Linked DNA regions of Homo sapiens: regions 2, 3 and 4 are each linked to region 1. The links are contacts of gene promoters, found by promoter capture Hi-C in blood cells and fetal thymus (Javierre and others, 2016). All regions are on one chromosome and are shown on one strand. Each heading gives the region's core, a stretch centred on a gene start or on the middle of the fragment in contact. The rest is flanking DNA. Distances are from core to core; before and after follow the strand shown.

What was found. Contacts are between HindIII fragments. The CHiCAGO score rates a contact against its expected background, and 5 or more counts as called.
Region 2: a contact is called between a fragment that was not itself captured here and the fragment with the promoter of AIFM1 in region 1, in 6 of 17 cell types (naive CD4 T cells, naive B cells, activated CD4 T cells and 3 more). The highest score is 7.0, in naive CD4 T cells.
Region 3: a contact is called between a fragment that was not itself captured here and the fragment with the promoter of AIFM1 in region 1, in 2 of 17 cell types (naive B cells and total CD8 T cells). The highest score is 6.9, in naive B cells.
Region 4: a contact is called between a fragment that was not itself captured here and the fragment with the promoter of AIFM1 in region 1, in 1 of 17 cell types (naive CD4 T cells). The highest score is 5.4, in naive CD4 T cells.

What each region holds. Positions count from the first base shown.
Region 1 is chrX:130,163,499-130,168,749 of GRCh38, forward strand. AIFM1 (apoptosis inducing factor mitochondria associated 1) reads right to left here and starts at 2,343. Exons shown (of 16, transcript NM_004208.4): 1 at 2,053-2,343. The coding sequence starts at 2,158. It also overlaps a transcript of RAB33A not described here. RefSeq lists an enhancer at 1,992-2,331. The HindIII fragment of the contact is 8,785 bases long and covers 1-5,251 here.
Region 2 is chrX:129,673,941-129,679,191 of GRCh38, forward strand. It overlaps LOC105373334 (a long non-coding RNA gene), which reads right to left and starts at 4,530. Exons shown (of 2, transcript XR_938580.4): 1 at 4,189-4,530; 2 at 1,948-2,078. RefSeq lists an enhancer at 4,035-4,204 and a silencer at 4,435-4,614. The HindIII fragment of the contact is 2,299 bases long and covers 1,816-4,114 here.
Region 3 is chrX:129,690,845-129,696,095 of GRCh38, forward strand. No RefSeq gene overlaps it. Among named protein-coding and RNA genes, the nearest start is that of APLN, 39 kb to the left of the region's middle. The HindIII fragment of the contact is 2,866 bases long and covers 1,799-4,664 here.
Region 4 is chrX:129,788,728-129,793,978 of GRCh38, forward strand. SASH3 (SAM and SH3 domain containing 3) reads left to right here. Exons shown (of 8, transcript NM_018990.4): 4 at 2,213-2,354; 5 at 3,601-3,749; 6 at 3,900-4,109; 7 at 4,262-4,412; 8 at 4,915-5,251. The coding sequence ends at 5,105. Among named protein-coding and RNA genes, the nearest start is that of SASH3, 11 kb to the left of the region's middle. The HindIII fragment of the contact is 1,276 bases long and covers 2,188-3,463 here.

The DNA.
Region 1 (5,251 bases), core at 1,093-3,592:
TTGAAAATTTAACACTACCCTCACCCATTTTTAAAGGCAGATGATGTCATACTTTGGTGCACGGCCAAAGGACAAAGAACAAGTGTATGCAAAGAGATGGATGGATATGTCAGGAAGTCCGAATATATTCTACAGTAGACTGCCTTCAAACAAAGACATGCAGTGGAAAAAACCATTTGAGTCTGTATTTTTCAGTAGTTCTAACAACACCAACCACTTTCCAATGTCTAATAAATCAACTTAACTTTGCAAATGCATATTTAATTGATGAGAACTTTTGGTCAGACTTTAGAATGCTGGTAAAAGTTGTGAGACTTAAGCAAAACAACTACTCAAAGTTTGAAAGGCCAGTGTGGATGAAAAAATTCAGGTTATCGCCGGGCGCGGTGGCTCACGCCTGTAATCCCAGCGCTTTGGGAGGCCGAGGTGGGCGGATCACGAGGTCAGGAGATCGAGACCATCCTGGTTAACATGGTGAAACCTTGTCTCTACTAAAAATACAAAAAAAAAAAAAAAAAAATTAGCCGGGCGTGGTGGCGGGTGCCTGTAGTCCCAGCTACTCTGGAGGCTGAGGCAGAAGAATGGCGTGAATCCGGGAGGCGGAGATTGCAGTGAGCCGAGATCGCGCCACTGCACTCCAGCCTGGGCGACAAAGCGAGACTCCGTCTCAAAAAAAAAAAAAAAAAAAATTCAGGTTATCTCAATTTCTGTGCAACAAGCACAGAGCACCATCATTTCAATACACAAAACCCTCAAAGATGACATCCATTGATAAGGCATTAGTTTAAAAGCTAAGCAGAGGTTTTAAGTTCCAAGAGCAGTATGTCCCAGGACATAACTCAAATACACCTATCAGGAAACATTTTCATTGTGCATAGCAACTGGAAAAACTGTTCAAATGCACATTTGCAAAGACCCTAACAACCCAAGGAAAATATTTTCCACTTTTTATTTTTAAAGCACCCAGGTGTTTCTGTATTGTAAAAGCCTCAAGGATAACTTCTGACATTGCAAATGCCCTAGGGGTGGACATTGAAGGATTACTGATTTTTTTTTCAAAGCAACTCCTACAGGTGGATCATTCATTGCCCCCATGAAGTAACGCAGTACGAAAAGAAGCAGGCTCAAGCCATGCTCAGATAAATTCACGGATATCTGATGTACAATGGGCTAATTACTGGGAAGAGACCCGAATTCATTCTTAACTTTTTGAGGTCAACTTTAGGAAGCAGTATGGAGTTGCAGCGAAGGGATTAAGGACCTGGAGGCTAGCAAACTATCCTTAGCTCTACCTATTAATTAACTATGTGACCTTTGGCAAGTAATTTCACCTCTCTGTGCCTCAGTTTATTATCTATAAAATGAGTGGGTTGACCTTTACCACAAAATCCCTTCCAGCTCTAAAATTTGATGAAACAACTTAATGGAGAACAAAATACAATGCGTTCTGCAAACTGTTTCTTTGAAGCCTTAAAGACCACCAAGAAGTACACGGCTCAGGCATCTCCAATTAAGTCTGGGCCAATTCTCTGGGTGTCTGGTACACAACCAACCGACTCCTTACTTGCCCTGCACCGTTTCTGTTTCACTGGGCATTCAAATCCATGGATCTCATCTGTGGTTTGGAAGGCTGAGCAGATAACACCCTCATTTACACAAGAAACTTAGGCGTAGGGCTTAAACGTCCTGTTTAAAGTCTCAATCGGTAAATGACAAAGTCTACTTGACCTCATTGCTCTAAAAAGGGGGGTGGGGGGTGGGGATGCCGGGGAGGCGCCGACAGCCAGTTGTTCTGGGATCCCTGAACAGCAAACGCTCCCGGGAAAAGGCCTCAAGCCGACTACTGGGTTCAAATCTCTTGAAGGTCAGGTCGGCATGGCTGAGCCAATTCCTCCGCTTGCAAGACTCAGGGTTCGGAGTCTGCCAATTTGGAATTCACGTGACTATGTGTTAAGTTTCTCGCGGGGACGCGGGGGTAGAGGGCTGCAAGGCACAGGGAGCCTAAGGCGCCAGGCCCTCGGACTTGGAGGTTGCCTGGAATGGGTCAGTCACCTGGGAGCCGGTTCCTCTGCCTCGGGCTTCGGACGCACACGGTCCGCACCAAGGGCACCAGCTTCTGCTTCAAAGCACCCGCCGCCAGGCCTCCACACCGGAACATTTCGGCGACCGCTATTCGGGACCTCCTCCTTCCCTTTCCTCTCACGCACGACCGACGGGTCAAACACCGTGAGCCCCGGCCAGCTCCCCCAGTCTCTTCACACGCACATTACGCAGACTCCTCCTCCCAGCTCCGGGTGGGCATTGGACAGAGAAGCCGGCCTGCTAGAGCCGGGGAAGGGGAACGGCGACCGGAGGCCTACTGCGCAGGCGTAGCACTCGCTGCCGCATTGCGATTGGTCCGCACGGCGAGAGGATTTGCGCATGCACTAGCTGGCCGCAAGCTCGCAAAGACGCTGGCTCTAGGTAGCCGGTTTTCGCGAGTTTGTGGCACAGTGTTGGACTGAACGAGTTAAGGAACCTGTTCAAGGAGGGACTCGTGGGGCCGCTTTGATTGGCGGTTGTGCCTGGTGCTGCCGCTGTGTTGGTGACGAGAACTGATAACAGCATCTCACAACAGCGTAGCCCCGGCATCGCACTTTGTTTTTTGGTTTTAGGACACCAGTTACTTGATACCGAAGCCTTCCTGATTCTTTTGCAGTGATCCAGATCCAGTTTTTCCATGAGTCCGAGGCGCGGAACCTGGCTTCCCAGATCCGGCGTGTACTTCCATCTTTTACCAGTTGCCGGCTCTTTCCCACCCAACCCGTTTCCTGGACAAGTAATTCTGCGCTCTTCTTCCCGCCTGTCACCTTTATTTATTAGTTCAGTTGTGTGTCCTAGATGCTGTATACCAGGTGCTACAGATACACACAGTCTCCTGCTGTGGTTTCTGTGCTTGGGAGCAGGATGTTAGCAAAAAGCGTTCGTGCTTCTCGGACTTTCTGGGAAGAGAAGTCTGCTAAGCAGAACTTTCAGTTATGGGAGTAGGGTGAGGGGCTGAGTGTAAATAAGTGTTTTGACTCTGCCAGATATAAGCTAAATTGGAAATAATGTTTTGGCTGCATGCAGAACATACAATGTGCCTGTTTCAAAGATTCAGCTTACATATTCATTTAACAAGTATTTATTGAGCACTTACCTCTTGGATTGTACTATAAAAGGGGCTCTGTTGGGTATGAAAAGTACGGATGGTCCCCGACTTACCCCTCACAATGGTTCGACTTACAATTTTTCGACTTTATGATGGGTTTAATGAGACCTAACCCCATGTCAGTCGAGGAGCATCTGGACTTAAGCATGGTTCAACTTACGGTTTTTTGACTTTATGATGGGTTTATCAGGGTATTAAATGCAGTTTCGACTTAACGATATTTTCAGTTTACAATGGGTTTATTTGGACATAGCATCTATATAGGAAGTGGCCACTGTCTAGTTGGGGAGATGACATATACCGGTCATTGAAATAATATCTGGTGTAGTGCCGGACAGAGCAAGAGAGAAGACTATGGGATGGAATCACTATGGTAGAACTTCGTGTAAGAAGTTATTTGAGTTGTGTCTTGAAGGATGAGTAGTAAAATTCAAACAGTAGAGGAAAAGGATTGATATTTCAGATGGTGAATACTTTCGGACCAAAGATAACATTTTTCATTGTTAAACATGTTGACCTTGGATCCAGACCAACCCACATTGAATCCTGGCTCTGCCACCTGGGCAAGTCACTTAATTGTGCCTCATTTTCCTCATCTACAAATCTCAGGAGGGTGTTCGGAAGACTAAATGAGCTAATATTTGTAAAGTGTCTTAGAGGAAGCACCATGCTGTTTGTTAAATGAAAAGGCTTGGAACTGTTTTAAAAAACCAAAACCCAGCACATTTTCGGGGGACAATGATAGAGAGTACATACTAAGAAGTATTGATGTGGTCAGGCTCCGTGGCTCATGCCTGTAATCCCAGCACTTTGGGAGGCCTAGGCGGGTGAATCACTTTAGGTCAGGAGTTTAAGACCAGTCTGGCCAACATGGTGAAACCCCGTCTCTACAAAAAATCCAAAAATTAGCCGGGCGCCATGGCATGCGCCTGTAATCCCAGCTACTAGGGAGACTGAGGCAGGAGACTCGCTTGAACCTGCCAGGTGGAGGCTGCAGTGAGCCAAGATTGTGCCACTGCACTCCAGCCTGGATGATGGAGCAAGACTCTGTCTCCAAAAAGAAAAAAATAAAGAAGTAGTGATAAAGACAGGCAAGTATGGTGGGGGGCCAGATTTGAACTGGCAAGAGTTGGGCCCTAACTTTGGAGGTAATGAAGTTACTTTTTTTTTTTTTTTGGTGGAATGGGGATAGAGAATGAAATTACAGGGCCGGGTGCAGTGGCTCATGCCTGTAATGCCAGTACTTTGGGAGGACGAGTGGGAAGATTGCTTGAGGCCAGGAGTTCCAGACCAGCCTGAGCACATAATGAGACATCATCTCTACCATTTTTTTTTTAAATTAGCCAGGCGTGGTGGTATGTGCCTGTGGTTCCAGCTACTCAGGAGGCTGAGATGGGAGGATCACTTGAGCCTAGGAGATCGAGACTGCAGTGAGCAGTGATTGCTCCCGTGCACTCCAGCCTGGATGACAGAGCGAGACCCTATTTCAAAAAAGAAAAAGAAAGAAATTACAAAGATACTCTTTTTTTTTTTTTTTTTTTCTTGAGACGGAGTCTCCCTTTGTCACCCAGGCTGGAGTGCAGTGGCAGTATCTCGGCTCACTGCAACTTCTGCCTCCCAGGTTCAAGCAATTCTCCTGCCTCAGCCTCCCGAGTAGCTGGGATTACAGGCAGATGCCACCGCGCCCTGCTAATTTTTCTATTTTTAGTAGAGACGGGGTTCCACAATGTTGTCCAGGCTGGTCTTGAACTCCTGATCTCAGGTGATCGCCCGCCTCGGCCTCCCAAAGTGCTTGGATTACAGGCATGAGCCACCTCGCCCGGCCTACAAAGACACCCTTCTGTGAAGTTTAACCCAGGAAGTAGTTTTGTTTTTTGGTTTTCTTTAAGAGACAGTCTCATTACGTTGCCCAGGCTGGTCTTGAACTCCTGGGCTCAAGCAATCCTGCTGCCTCAGCCTCTCAAAGTGTTGGGATTACACGTGTGAGCCACTGTGCCAGGCCTAGGAAGTAGTCATTATGTGGTGAAGATGATCCAGGGCTCCCTTACCCATTAAGCAGAG
Region 2 (5,251 bases), core at 1,715-4,214, 490 kb before region 1:
TACTTTTAGGTTTATTATAAACATCTTTAACTTACACAGTCTACCTTCAAGTGATATGTACCACATCACATATACTATAAAAACTTTACAATAGCATATACCCATTTCTCCCCACAACCTCTGTGCTATTGTAGTCATATATTTTACATTTACATATGTTACAAACCTCACACTACATTGTTATTATTTTTGCCTAAACAATCCACTATCTATTAAAGATATTCAAATACTTTTTAAAAAATCTGACCTATTTACCTGTGTAGTTAATTATTTCCAGTGTTCTTCTTTCCTTTGTGTAGATTCATATTTTCATTTATTATTCTTCTTCCATTTCTTGTAGCATGGGTCTCCTAGTGATAAATTATTTGAGCTTTCATATAACTGAAATGTTTTTATTTGGCCTTCATTTTTGAAAGATATTTTTGCCTGATACACAATCCCTGGTTAACAGTTTTCTTTTTTCTTTCAGTGTTGTAAAGATTTTGCTTCATCATCTTCTCACTTATATTGTTCACAATGAGAAATCTTGTATTTGTCTCTCTGTATATAATGTGTCTTTTTTCTCTGGTTGCTTTTAAGATATTCTCCTTATCACTGGTTTTGAGCAATATGATTACAATATGTCTCGACATAATTTTCTTCATGTTTCTTGCACTTGGCATTTGTTGAGTCCCCTGAATCTGTGCGTTTATAATTCTCATCAAATTTGAAAAAATTTTGACCATTATTTCTTCAAACTTTTTTCTGGTCCCTTTTCTTTCTTTTTCTCCATCAGGGATTCCAATTACACATATAAGAGGCCATCTGAATTTTTCCTACAGTTTACTGATGCTCAATTCATTTTGTAATTCTCTTTTCTATGTGTGTTTCATTTCAAATCATTTCTATCTCTGTGTATTCAAGTTCACTAATGTTTTCTTCTGCAATGTCTAATCTTTTATTAATTCTATCCAATGTGTTTTTTACCTCACATATTGTGGTTGTCATTACCATAAGTTTGATTTGGCTATTTTCAAAAATATCTTCCAGCCAGGCACGGTGGCTCACGCCTGTAATCCCAGCACTTTGGGAGGCCGAGATGGGTGAATCACGAGGTCAGGAGATCGAGACCATCCGTACCGAAAATACAAAAAAATTAGCCAGGCATAGTGGCGGGCACCTGTAGTCCCAGCTATTTGGGAGGCTGAAGCAGGAGAATGGCGGGAACCTGGGAGGCAGAGCTTGCAGTGAGCCGAGATGGCGCCACTGCACTCCAGACTAGGCGACTGAGCGAGACTCTGTCTCAAAAAAAAAAAAAAAAACTTCCATGTCTCCACCTAACTTTTTGAACACACAGAATACAGTTAGTTGTAATTAACTTTTTTATCATTGTCTGCTAATTCTAACATCTGTGTCAGTTCTGGTTTGATTTCAATTAATTGATTTATCTCCTTCTTATTAGTCACAGTTTCCTGCTCTTTCCATGCTAGGGAATTTTTTACAGGATGCCAGACATTGTGTATTCTACCTTGTTGGTTGTTTATATGTCTAAGTTTCTATAATCAGTGGTTCCCATCTAAAGGCAGTTTTGTTTGTCTGAAGACATTCTTTGTTGTTACAACTGGAGGGTGCTATTGGTACCCAATGGGTACAGGCCAGGTATGATGGTAAACGTCCTGCAATACACAAGACAGCCCCCACAATAAAGAATTATGAAGCCCAAATATGTCAATCATTCTGAGGTTGGGAAACCTTGCTGTAATTATTCTTGAGTTTTGTTCCGGGACTCAGTTAAGTTTGTTGGAAATTGTTTGATCCTTTTGGGGCTTTCTGTTAAGCTTTGTTAAATGAGACCAGAAGAGTATTAAGTTTGGGGCTAATCATTTCACCATACTGAAGCAAGAACCTTCTGTGTACTCTACTTGTCTTAGTTCAATCAGGTTGCTATAACAAAATACCAAAACTGGGTAACTTATAAACAACAGAAATTTATTTCTCACAGTTCTGGAAGCTGGGAGTTTGAAGCCAGGACACCATCATCATCTAGTTCTTGTGAGGGCCCACTTTCTGGTTTGCAGATTGCTATCTTCTTGTTGTACCTTCAGATGACAGAGAGAGAGAGAATGACAGAGAGAGAGAGAAAGGAATGAAGCTCTCTCCTATGTCTCCTTCTAAGGGCATTAATCTCATAATTGGGGCTCCATCGTAGTGACCTAGTAACCTCCCAAAGGCCCCACTTCCTAACACTGTCACCTTGGGGGTTAGGATTTCAACATATGAATTTGGGGGGCGAGGGGTATATAAAGACTCAGACTGCAGCACTACCCAATACTCTAATTTTAGCTGGTTGAGAGCAGGCACTATTCCCAGCCCTGTGTGAATTCTGAGCACTGTTCTTTTAACTATTTGGGATAGTTCCTTTTCAAACATTAAATAGTTTCCTCACGTGAGCTAGTGAATCTACATTGTGTTTGTTCCATCCCCACTTCACTGCTAGTACCCAACCTCAGAACTTTCTAAAGATGCTTAACACTCATCATATCCACTCTCACCCCCACCCCAGACCCACTCCTCCTCCTGTATCTCCAGTAAATGTTGCCAGTCCCTTAAGTTAGAAACTCAGGAGTTGCCCTCCACTCCTCCCTCCTCATCACCCCAATATTCAATCAGTTATCAAATGCTGTCAATTTGAACTTGCCAATGTCCCCTGCACCCTGTCCTTACTTTCCAGCCTCACTATCCTTGCCTTCTTAGACCATCATCATGTCCTGCTTTGGCCCTTCATGTGGCAACCCCAACTTGCATCTCCAACATCCCCCTCCCCCTCCACTATACACCCTCACTTCCAGTGCTACAGAACCTTTCATTGCTTATGAAGCAGGCCGTGCCGTTTCACAACTCTATGTCTTTGCACATGCTATTCCCTTTGCCTGAAATATAGTTTTTCTGTTTTCTGCCTGGCAAATTACTTCTCATACCTTAGATGTCACCTTCTCTGTCAAGCCCTTTTTGATTTCTCGAGGCACCTATTCACCCCTGCCCCTTCGTGCTCCTGCTATGTTCTGTTCACACTGTGTTAACAACATTGGTCACATCTGTTTGCACTGCTGCTTTCCCCATTGCTATAGCTCCTAGGGATCTAACAATCCCTGTAGGTGCTTGCTATGGACTGACTTCTGACAACTTCCAAAAAACTCATATGCTGAAGCCCTAACCCCCAATATCACTATACCTGGAGATAGGCTCTTCAGCAGGTAATTAAGGTCAAATGAGGTCATAAGGGTGGAGCCCTAAGCAGACAGGACTGCAGCCTTATAAGAAGAAGAGATCTTTCTCTCTCTTCCTCCGCCACGTGAAGACATAGCAAGAAGGCAGCCATCTTACAAGCCAGGAAGAGAACCCTCACCAGAACTTCACCATGCTGGCACACTGATTTTGGACTTCCAGCCCCAAAAAGTGAGAAAATTAATTTCTATTGTTGAAGTCACACAGTCTCTGGTATTTTTATTATGGCAGCCAGGCTGACTACTACAGTGCTTAATGCATGGTGAGTGCATTTTTAAATGAATGGAAAAGGAAGAAAGAAACAGAAGAGGAAGAGGTGGAACAAATGGGGAGAAAGATGAAGAAAGCAGAAGTTAAGAATGAGAGAAACTAAGGAAACAGGAGGAAGAAGGTAGAGGATGGGAATGAGCTCATGAAGGAGCCAGTATCTCAGTGGAGACCATGCCAGTGTGAGGGAACTACTGCCAACTAGGAGGCAGGTGGGTGCAGGCTCCAGGGCCAGTGCTGAGCATCCAGGCACAAGACTTTTAAGAGAGAGTGTGTGTGTGTGTGTGTGTGTGTGTGTGTGTGTGTGTGTGTGTAATTTTTTCCCCTAGAGATAGCCTAGAGGGGCCACCTTTGTGCTTTTCTCAGAGGCTATGTGTCCTCATTGGCTGGGTAACAGCTGGGTGCCCTTGCCTCCCCGGCCAAAGGCAGCCGCCGTCCACACCCAGCTGCCTGAGGGACAAGGAGGGTGTTTACCCAATGGCCTGTGTCCTTAAAGGACTCTGCTCTCAGTTACACAGCAAACAGCTGGCCTCGAAGGGGCCTCGTCCTGGCCGCCGCGAGCGGGCGGCTTCTGCAGCGTTTAAGCTTCTATCTACCATGAAGATGCTTCCCCCACCCTCATGCCTCCTCCCGGGGGTGGGCATGAGGGGCACTTACGAGCTGAGACCTCACAGGCGACATTTTTTAAGCTGCTCATTCTGACGGAACAGTCCCCAAGACAAACACAAGGCTTTCTGTCTCCCAGGGCTTGTGCGACTTGGTTTCAGACTCTGCCACCCACTGCCGCAGACAGCGGCCGTCTTCCCAGGAAGAAGACATTTCCTGGCGGGGTACCGGGACTGACGGGCGGCGGCGCAGGGCAGTGCCAGCCGGGCCCAGGAAGTGAACGCGCTGGGCCCGCGAAGGAGCGCGTCGCCCGCCCTGAGGGGGGCAGTGCAGCGCCCACCGCGCGCCTTCGCCAGTCCCCTGGCACCGTTGCCCTGGCCAGGGGCCGGGAGAGGGCGTGGCAGCGCGGCAGTGCGCCTACGCACCGGGGGCACTGGGGATCCCGCCCCCACGCTGGTTCCCGCGCTTTCAAGAGCCTCAGAGCCCCGAGACAAGGGGGTGTCGGCTCTACCCACCTGGCCCAGCCCGAAAGAACAGGGCCAACATTTTGAAACCAAACCAATAATAGAATTGGAATACTTTTGATCACTTTTTATTTTCCTTTTCTGGAGGAGAGTTGTGGGGCGGGGGTGGGGAGCTGGTAGAGAGAATCTCAGGGCGCTGTGGCTTTGAGGGCGGGTTCCCTGCGCAAGCAGCAGTGCTCACAGTGCGAGCAATCATGGCTAGGCCCAGCCCGCGGTTAGTTGGGTGCAGGGACGTGACAGGACCGCGAGGGCTGATTCTTTAGTCTATTGTTCCCACTCCTCAGAAAGGACTCCTAGCAAATATATACTGCTAGTCCCAGCTTTCCCGATGGAATGGAACCCCTTGCTTTGCTTTGCTGTCGCTATTCAGGATGGGGATTTTGTCCATGCAGAAAGACATTTACATTATCTACACTGGAATGCCGGCCCACTAGCCTGGCAAAATGCTGAGCCAGCTATTAGATCTGGACTCGTGGAGGAGTGGAGATTTGCCTCCATTCAAGCAACCACATACTTCCCTGGAAGCTGGGAGGAGCACCACTAAGTCCACCCTCTCCTGCCTGGCTCCTTGGTAGTGCTTCTCAAACATT
Region 3 (5,251 bases), core at 1,982-4,481, 470 kb before region 1:
ACAGCCATATTACAGAATGCTGTGCAGATATCTTTTTATGTATGAGACATAAATGTGTGGATAAAGTTATCCAAGACATATTTTTATTTTATTTTAATTGGCAAATAATAATTGTATTTGTCTATGGAGTACAATGTGATGTTTTGATGTACAGCTGGCCCTACTTATTCGTGGGTTCTACATCCAAGGATTCAACCAAGCTTGGATGAAAAATATTTGGGAAAAAATAATGGATGTTGTGTCTGTACTGAACACGTACAGGCTTTTTTTCTTGTCAGGATTCCCTGAACAATATAACAACTATTTACATGCCACTTACATTGTATTAGGTGTTATACACAATCTAGAGATGATTTGAAATATAAGGCAGGATGTGCATAGGTTATATGCGAATACTATGCCATTTTATATCAGGGACTTGAGCATCCTCAGATTTTGGTACCCGCAAGCAGTCTTGGGCCCGCTATATGTATACATTGTACAAAGATTAAATAAAGTTAATTAGCATATCTATCACCTCCCATATTTATCAGTTTTTTGTGGTGAAAAGCATATTGTTAAGTGGCAAAAAAAAAAAAAAAAAAGCTGTGGGGCTGGGCCTGGTGGCTCACGTCTATAATCCCAGCACTTTGGGAGGCCGAGGCAGGCAGATCACCTGAGGTCAGGAGTTCGAGAGCAGCCTGACCAACATGGCAAAACCCTGTCTCTACTAAAAATACAAAAATTAGCCAGTGTGGTGGCTCGTGCGTGTAGTCCCAGCTACTCGGGGAGGCTGAGGCAGGAGAATCTCTTGAACCCAAGAGGCAGAGGTTGCAGTGAGCCGAGATCACGCCACTGCACTCCAGCCTGAGCGACAGAGTGAGACTCTGTCTCAAAAAACAAAAACAAAAACAAAAAACAAGCTGTGGGACAATATGTATGATACAATATATGTGATAAAATGTACACAACTATATATTTCTATAGGTACTGTACATATACATGTAATGTATGCACGGTATGCAACTGCAAGGACAGAAGTGTAGGATACCCCAAACCCTAACAGTGTTCACCCCCAGTAAAGGTACTAAAATGAGAAACGTGTCTTAAGGAGTTCTTTCCAAATAACTAAATACTTTGGATTTTTGCCAACGTGAGTTGATTCATCAATTTATTTTCTAATTAAAAATGCACTTTCACAGTAAAGCATATGAAAAGGGGCACAGAAACAGATTAGTGGCTGCCAAGGGTTAGGGATGGCTTGGAGGGAACAGGTGGGCATGGGTGGGTAGGAGTAACACGAGGGAGTTTATTGATGGTGGTAGTTATGCAAAACTATACACGCAATGAAACTGCATAAAACTGTGCACACAAACATGCACACACAAATGGGCGCATGAAAAAGCTTGAGAAATCTGAATCAGGTCTGGAGTTCACTTAGTGGCATTGTACTGATGTTATATCCCTGGCCTTGACATTGTACTATAGTTATGTAAGATGTTACCAGCGGGGAAAGCTGCCTGAAGAGGACATGGGACCTCTCTGTATTATTTTTGCAACTTCTCGTGAGTAGTTCTTTGAAAATAAAAAGTTTACTAAAAGGGGGGCACAAAAAGCTTTTTGAATATTTGGAGGTGATGGAAGTGTTTCATATCTTGAATGTGGTAGTGGTTACATGACTGTTTACCTTTGTTTACCTTTGTTAAATCTCATTGAACTTGTACACATCAAAGGGTGAAATTATGCCTTCATAAACCTGACTTTAAAAAGTCTCAGGCCAGAACTGCTCTCATTTGTTAAGATGAAGAAATCATTTACAAGCTTGTGTGCTTTGTTGTTTATTTCAAAATTACATGCAACACACTTCACAATGACCAGTGATGCCTGTGCCCAGTGGGAGGTCCCCGTTAGATGCTCAGCCACCTCCAGCGATGAGGAGCCCATCACTTAATATTGCAGCCCATATCATTGTCAGGAGAATTGTAATAGAAAGTTCTTGATTAGGCCTGTAATCCCAGCACTTTGGGAGGCCTAGGCGGACGGATCATTTGAGGTCAAGAGTTTGAAACCAGCCTGCCCAACATGGCAAAACCCCTTCTCTACTAAAAATACAAAAATTAGCAGGGCGTGTTGGTGCATGCCTGTAATTCCAGCTACTGGGGGTGCTGAGGCACCAGAATTGATTGAACCCAGGAGGCGGAGGTTGCAGTGAGCCAAGATCACACCACTGCACTCCAGCCTGGGCAACAGAGTGAGACCCTGTCTCAAAAAAAAAAAAAAAAAAAAAGAAAAGAAAGAAAGAAAGAAAAGAAAAAATAAAGTTATTTATTAGGCTACTAGTTAGCTGTGTGGCCTTGGGTAGATTACTTCCTGTCTCTGGGCCTTAATTTCCTTATAAGAAAAGATGACCTCTGAGATCCCTTCTCGCTCTAACATTCTAAGTCTCTAAAACTGGGAATTTAAGTTTTGACCTGGTTTTGCCTTCTGGAGTCACACAGAACTTAACCCTGTGTGTTGCCAACAGTCAGCCAGCCCATCGTACACTAGAAGTCAGCTAGCAGCTCAGCTCCCTAGGGCAAACATCATCCCCTGGCCTTTCCCATTGTCCTACCAAGAAATGGAATTGCAGGATCTGGTGATGGTTAGGATCACAGGATCAGGAGTCAAGCAGCCTGGAGTCTGACTGTGGACTTTGCCACTTCCCACCGTGTGACCTTAGGCAGGTCACTTGTGCAATCTTCAGTGTCCTATCTGTAGAAAGGGAATTAGTAGTACCAGCCTCCTGGGGAGAGGGCGTGGGCATTAAATGAGGTAATGTGTGTAAATCAGGATGTGTGGTAGGCAGGATAATGGACTCCCCAATATCTGCACATCCTAATCCCCACAACCTGTGAATATATTGTGTTACAGTGGCAAGAGGAAATTAAGGCTGCTAATCAGCTGACTTTAAAATACGGAGATCAGCGGGGCATGGTGGCTCATGCCTATAATCCCAGCACTTCGGGAGGCCAAGGCAGGTGGATCACTTGAGGCCAGGAGTTCCAGACCAGCTTGGACAACATGGCAAAACCTTGTCTCTACTAAAAATACAAAAAATTAGTCAGGTGTGGTGGTATGCACCTGTAATCCCAGCTACCCGGGAGGCTGAGGCAAGAGAATTGCTCGAACCCAGGAGGCAGAGGCTGAAGTGAGCCGAGATCACACCATTGCACTCCAGCCTGGGCAACAGAGCGAATCTCCATCTCAAAATAAAATAAAATAGAGAGATTGGGGAATAATGATCTTGGATTATCCAGAGAGGCCCAATATGATCACGAGGGTCCCTATAAGTGAAAGACAGAGGCAGGAAAGTCAGACTCAGAATGCTGCAATGTGAGAAAGTCTCCACCAGCCATTGCTGGCTTTGAAGATGGAAAGGCATCGTGAGGCAAAGCATGCAGGCAGCCTCTCGAAGCTGAACAAGGCAGGGAAACAGATCCTCCCCTTGAGCCTCTAGGAGGAACGCAGACTTGCTGACCCCTTGATTTTAGCCCAGTGGGACTCCTGTTGAACTTCTGGCCTACAGAACTGTAAAAGAGTACATTTGTGGTTTGGTTTGTTTGTGGCGTCTTTTAGGGGATTGTTTAGTTTTGTTCTTGTTTTTGTAGAGACAGGGTCTTGCTATGTTGCCCAGACTTGTCGCAAACTCCTGGCCTCAAGTCATCCTTCCACCTCAGCCTTCCAAGTAGCTAGGACTACAGGCACACACCACCACGCCTGGCTAATTGTTTTTAAATTGTTCTGTGGAGGTGGGGCACAGTGGCTCACAGCTGTAATCCCAGCACTTTGGGAGGCCAAAGCGGGCGGATCACTTGAGCCCAGGAGTTCAAGACCAGCCTGGCCAACATAGCAAAACCCTGTCTCTACTGAAAAATACAAAAATTAGCCGGGCCTGGTGGTGCATGCCTGTAGTCCCCACTGCTGAGGAGGCTGAGGCAGGAGAATCACTTGAACCCAGGAGTCAGAGGTTGCAGTAATCTGAGATCAGGCGACTGCACTCCAGCCTGGGTGACAGAGCACGACTCTGTCTCAAAAAAAAAATTCTTTTGTGGAGATGAGGTCCTTGCTATGTTGCCCAGACTGGTCATGAACTCCTGGGTTCGAGTGATCCTCCTGCCTCAGCGTCCCAAAGCTCTGGGATTACAGGCATGAGCCACCATGCCTGGCCCATTTGCGTTGTTTTAAGCCACTAAATGTGAGGCAATGTGTTGCAGTGGCAATAGGAAACTAGTACAGATGGCTGCTGCTCCCTCCTGACTGGTCTCCCTGCACCCACCCTTGCATCTCCCCAGTCCATCCCCCACAACACAGCCAAAGCAATGTTCCCAGGACCTTAGTCAAACTAAGTCACATCCCTTAATACAACTCGTCTCCCTGTACCTTAAATGTGCCTCAGGGCCTTTGAACCTGCTGTTCTCTTTGTTTAAAAGATGTCATGGTCGCCTAAGTAATACCTAATCTACTTTCATAAACTAGCTCAAAGATGAAAATGCTGCTTCCTCAAGGAAGGCTTGAGGAACCCATCTGGGTCAGGTTCTCTAGGTAATAGCACCCTGTCCTCCTCTGTAGCACTTGTAGGTTTTTAAATAAATCCATGTGTTGATCTGCTTCAGGGCTTATTGCCTGCCTTTGCTACCAGGCATGTAAGCTTCCCAAGGGCAGGGACAGTGTTTGTCTTATTCACCTCCCTTAGCCCAGTCGCTGGCACAAAGGAAGCACTTAATAAATGGTAGCTATTATCATTATTTTATTTCTGAATCCTCATCATTCTGATCACCTCCCCAAACACTCCCTAGTTTGAAGCGTCCTTTCTGTAAAGTGGTACTCCTACCTTGGCCCGGTGCTCCAGGGGTGGTATGAACAACAAAATGTAGAAGCTGACAGTGCTGTCCCCACCTACTGGGGACATACCACTTCTATTCATGCTGCTTAAGGCTACCTTCCTTTATCACCAACTTCATCATACTCTCAGCTGCAACAGAGCTGGAGGTCACTCACACCTACACACCCACCTGCTGCAATCAGGACGTCTGCCAAGCCAGCTTCCCGCCATCCCGTTTCTGTATGGTTGCTTTTTGTAACCTCAGTTTCAGCTTTACTCTCGTTCCTATGGGGTCCCATCATTTTCTTGGGCCATTGTTGTAACCTGTCCCAATCTTTCCATGTCCCTATTCAGCCAGCCATTCTATTAACCAACCCTCCTGGCCTCGTGTCATCTACAAAACTGAGCAGT
Region 4 (5,251 bases), core at 1,576-4,075, 370 kb before region 1:
TTGCAGCCACGGACAGGCAGCCAGGCAATCTTGACGGGGCAGGAGGCTGGCGGGGGAAGGGGTGGAGTTTGAGAAGGGATGAAAGTCTGGGCAACAGGGCTGGACATGGTGGCTCCTGCCTATAATCCCAGCACTTTGGGAGACTGGGGCCGATCACTTGAGGTCAGGAGTTTGAGACCAGCCTGGCCAACATGGCAAAACCCCATCTCTACTAAAAATACAAAAATTAGCCAGGCGTGGTGGCACATGCCTGTAATTCCAGCTACTCAGAGACTGAGGCAGGAGAATTGCTTGAACTTAGGAGACAGAGGTTACAGTGTGCCAAGATCGTGCCACTGCACTCCAGCCTGGGCAACAGAGCAAGACTCTGTCTCAAAAAAAAAAAGAAAGAAAGAAAGAAAGAAAGAAAGAAAGAAAGAAAGAAAGAAAGAAAGAAAGAGAAAAAAAAAAAAAAGAAAAGTCTGGGCAAGGGATGCTTCTTGAGGAGGCGGGCCTGGGACAGGGGCAGCTTGAGAAAGATGAAATGGCCTGAGGCAATCCATCCACCTCAAAGCTTTGCTTTGGAACTTCCCCGGGATTGGGAAGGCCTATTTTCTCTCATAGAATCCCTATGAGAGAAAACAGATTGGGCACAGTGGCTCACACCTGTAATCCCAGCACTTTGAGAGGCCAAGGCAGGTGGATCACCTGAGGTCAGGAGTTCGAGACCAGCCTGGCCAACATGGCAAAATCCCGTCTCTACTAAAAATACCAAAACAAATTAGCCAGGCGTGGTGGCAGGTGCCTGTAATCCCAGATACTCGGGAGGCTAAGGCAGGAGAATTGCTTGAACCCGGGAGGTGGAGGTTTCAGTGAGCCAAGATCACACCACTGCACTCTGGTCTGGGTGACAAGAGCAAAACTCCGTCTCAAAAAAAAGAAAAAAAAAGAGAGAAAACAGAGAAGGCTGGCTTCAGCCCAGGGAGGAAAGTTGGCACAGGCAGCTGTGGGGCAGGCATGACCCAAGAAGCTTAAATCACACAGTGGGTTTGGGTTGCCATGGCTCTAAAAGGAGCCACTGAGGCAGTGGTGTGCTGGAGTTGGCTCGTACTGGGCTTATACCAGCTCACAAGAGCAGTTGGTCAAACTGTCAAAAATTGTGCAAGCCAGTTGTTAAACACAACCATTATTAAAAATCAAATTAAAGAAACTTACAATTCAGTTAATTATATTTTTTTAAAAAGGTAAACTGGGCATGGTGGTGTACACCTATAATCCCAGCTACTCAGGAGGACGAGGCAAGATGATTGCTTGAGCCCAGTAAGAGTCCAGCCTGGGCAACATAGGGAGACTCTGTCTCTAAATAAATAAATTTAAAAAAATAAAATTTTGTAAAAACGAACAAAGGTAATACAGTAAATCTTCAAAACTCATCACTTCCTAATTCTTGTACTACCTTTTACTCTTATCAATGCTGCTGAGGTTACGTGCATCCATAGCATCTTCATGGTGGCAATAGCCTCACCCTCATTTCAGACAACACGTCCAGTGATGTCAAAATGGTAGCTTGACATTGGCCGTGGAGGGGAGTGTTTACAACACAGGAATTGGCAACTCATCAGGGCCAGCTGTTAAACAGTTATCACCTCACTGAGGTGTGGTGAGGTAGGGGGAGCTCTGGAGTCTGGCTTGGTTGTGGGTTGCCTTGGGACTTGAACCTGAATTCCCTTGGCCTGAGTTTACAGATGAGGAGTAAGTAACCCTTGGGCCTTACTCCTCATTTGTAAACTCAGGCCAACAATACCACTTACCTTCAAGTGTCACTGTAAGGATTCAGTGAAATGGCAGGCAGGCCTGGCACACAGAAACACAGGCAAAAGTAGTTTCCTCTCTAGCGACATTGTCTGCCCAGTTGTGCGGTAGCAATGGTTGAGTCCAGGTTGTGCCACCGTGGTCTTTTCTGTATGTACATCGGCACTTGAGGCTGACAAAAGCACATCCACATGGTGCCCTGGTTGAACCTGTTTCTGTGAGGTAACCAGGGCAAGGACTGTCACTCTCATTTTTACAAAAGGGGAAGAAACTAGGGCTCAGAGAGTGCCATTCAGCCTATAAGTGGTAGAGTTGGGGTTTGAGCCAGCCCCTAGCTCTTCACTAAGCCCAGGCCCATTTCTTCAGCTTCATGCACACCCCAGCAAGGCTCCTTAAAGCTTCCCGCCTACCCTCCCTGCAGGCAGACACTCTGGAGGAGGGCTCTGCCTCCCCGACATCTCCAGACTACAGCCTGGACAGCCCTGGCCCTGAGAAGATGGCGCTGGCCTTTTCTGAGCAAGAGGAGCATGAACTTCCGGTGCTCAGCCGCCAGGCATCAACAGGTGAGTAGGGGATGCGGGGGACACCTGCCGAATCTGGAGGAAAGGACTGGGTTACAGCCGTGCTGGTGGCACACTGTCTGGGCGGGGGGTAAGAGAAATGAATGCTTACTCTTTGCCTGCTGGGAACATTCTCAGTCCTCTTCACATTAAATCTTCTCAACAACCTCATGGGGCCAGTACTGTTATCCTTGCTTTATTGATGTGGAAACAGGGTCTTAGGGAGGTTAAGTGACTTGCCCAAGATGACCCAGTCTTGAACTCAGATGTACCGTAGAGGAACTTCCACTTGCTATCCTCAGGCCCCGGAGAGGCCCACGGGCAGAGGAAGAGTCTCAGTCACCCTCTTGGACCAGCCCGTCCCCACCTTTCCAAGGGGAGCTAGAGGCTACAGATCCCTGGGCCTCTGATGCCCCAGTCGGGGGTGGGCGTATGAGGTCTCCAGCTGTGAAGAGTCAGCCTCTTGACCCTAGACCATAGTTGCTGGGCTCAGGGCATCACCTGGCATCTTCTAGAAGTCCATGGGACAGGACAAGAGGTGCCAGCAGGGAACTCGTCCAGGCAGGGGCTTTGGGTTCTGCAGCCCCATTCAGCACCGCCTTTCTTGCCCCTCAAGTCCACTCCAAGTTTCCTGCTTTCTCTGCCTCCACAGACACTTCCCTGCCCCCGACTGAAAATCATTCAAAATGCCCACTACTCTGTACTTCCCAGGGAGAAGGAGCCCAACTGAGTTTCTATGTGACATTGTAACTACACATTGAGTTAAGCAGGGAAAGTCAAATATGAATGCAGGGCATAGCTTCCTGGGTGGAGGGAGCGTTGGAGTGGGTATCAGGGAACATGGAGTCTAATGGACTGACTCAGTGCTGCCAGTTATAAAATGAGAAGCCTTGAGCAGTTCACTTGGTCTGTGTGACCTCAGATTTCCGCATCTGTTCATTGGAGTGTTGGCCCAGTTGTTCTCTAGAGGCCCTCCTAATTTGCCCATTCTTTGGTCAGTGAGCCATTTCTCCTCCCATTGCCAACTCTTTTCATGTCCAAGGGCCCAGAGGTGAAGCCGTGCTCCTGGTCGGTAGCCAAGGGGGTGGTTCAGAATCCCTTCTGCAGTGTAAAGCTTGCCAGAGCCCAGCTGCCTTCCCGGTGTATACCCTTGGGATTTCTAGGCAGGTCCCCTGGAAGGCACCTGCTAGGCACTGTCTCAGCTGTTCTAGGACAAAGGTGAGCCTCCTCCCTGCCCCATCTCCTGCAGGCAGTGAGCTCTGCAGCCCCAGCCCAGGTTCTGGCAGCTTCGGGGAGGAACCACCTGCCCCCCAGTACACAGGGCCTTTCTGTGGCCGGGCACGAGTCCACACCGACTTCACTCCCAGCCCCTATGACCACGACTCGCTGAAACTGCAGGTAAGATCAGCATCCGGGCTTCTCTGGAGCCTGGCAGGCTGTGCCCAAAAAGGAAGCTGGACTGAACCAGGCTATGACAGTGTCAGTGGAGGCCAAGGCCCCCCATATCCTCTCTCCCTTGCTCCCTTCTCCTCTCCTCTCCCCCAACAGAAAGGAGATGTGATCCAGATCATTGAAAAGCCACCTGTGGGCACGTGGCTGGGCCTACTCAATGGCAAGGTGGGCTCTTTCAAATTCATCTATGTGGATGTGCTGCCCGAGGAGGCCGTGGGGCATGCCCGCCCCAGCCGCCGACAGAGCAAGGGCAAGAGGCCCAAGCCTAAGACCCTGCATGAGCTGCTGGAGCGCATCGGCCTGGAGGTTTGAGCTTGGTCCTCACTAGTATCTAGTATCAGGGAGGCACAACTGCCCCAGGGATGGGGACCAGGAAATGACAGCTATGCGTAGTTGGGGAGGACCTAGGCAGGGGTGGCTGGTAAGCAGCTGTGCCGATGGCCTGCCTCTGCCTACAGGAGCACACATCCACCCTCCTGCTCAATGGCTACCAGACACTGGAAGACTTCAAAGAGCTGCGAGAAACACACCTCAATGAGCTGAACATCATGGATCCACAGCACCGGGCCAAGCTGCTCACGGCCGCCGAGCTGCTGCTGGACTATGACAGTGAGTGGCTTTAGGAGCGGCCTGGTGAGGGTGTGTGCCCACCGGCATTCCAGGGAGGGGAGGCTTGCCCTGGCCTTGCCTTCTGTCCACGCTCTGCCCTAGGACTGCTCTGCAGTGGAAAGGTACTTTCCACTTGAATTAGAATTTCAGGGAAAGTGTACGGGAGAAAGGAGTTGTAGGGATGATTGGGCCCAACCTCCTTTGGATCAAAGGGGACCCTTAAGGCCAAAGAAGGCAAAGCCTTACTTGAGGCCTCAAAGCTGAGTAATAACAGAGCCAGGATTCAAGCCCACTGCCTGGCTCCAGCTTAGTGCTAAAGAAGTGTGAGCTCCTGGACTGCAGAGCTGGCCTGGAAACAACTCCTACCAGCTTCTAAGCTGGAAGCAGTGAGGAGAGGGGCAGGGCGGTGGCAGGTGCCCAGAAGGAGAGACTGCCTATGGTGTATTTCCCAAGGTCCCTACCTCCACCCCCATATTCTGTCTCCCTCTCTCGTCCCTGGCAGCTGGCAGTGAGGAGGCTGAAGAGGGCGCCGAGAGCAGCCAGGAGCCAGTGGCACACACAGTGTCGGAACCCAAGGTGGACATCCCGCGCGACTCAGGCTGCTTTGAGGGCTCGGAGAGCGGGCGCGATGACGCAGAGCTGGCAGGCACTGAGGAGCAGCTGCAAGGCCTCTCCCTGGCCGGGGCACCTTGAGGTGGCGGTGGCAATAGGCCAAGGCTGGGACCCAGCTGCAAAGGCTGTAGGAGTGGGCCCAGCCTCCCGTGGTGGCCCAGGTCCTGAGGACTGGCACTGAGCCTGGCCCTGCTTCCCCAGGGACACTTAGGGCCACAGAGGCCAGG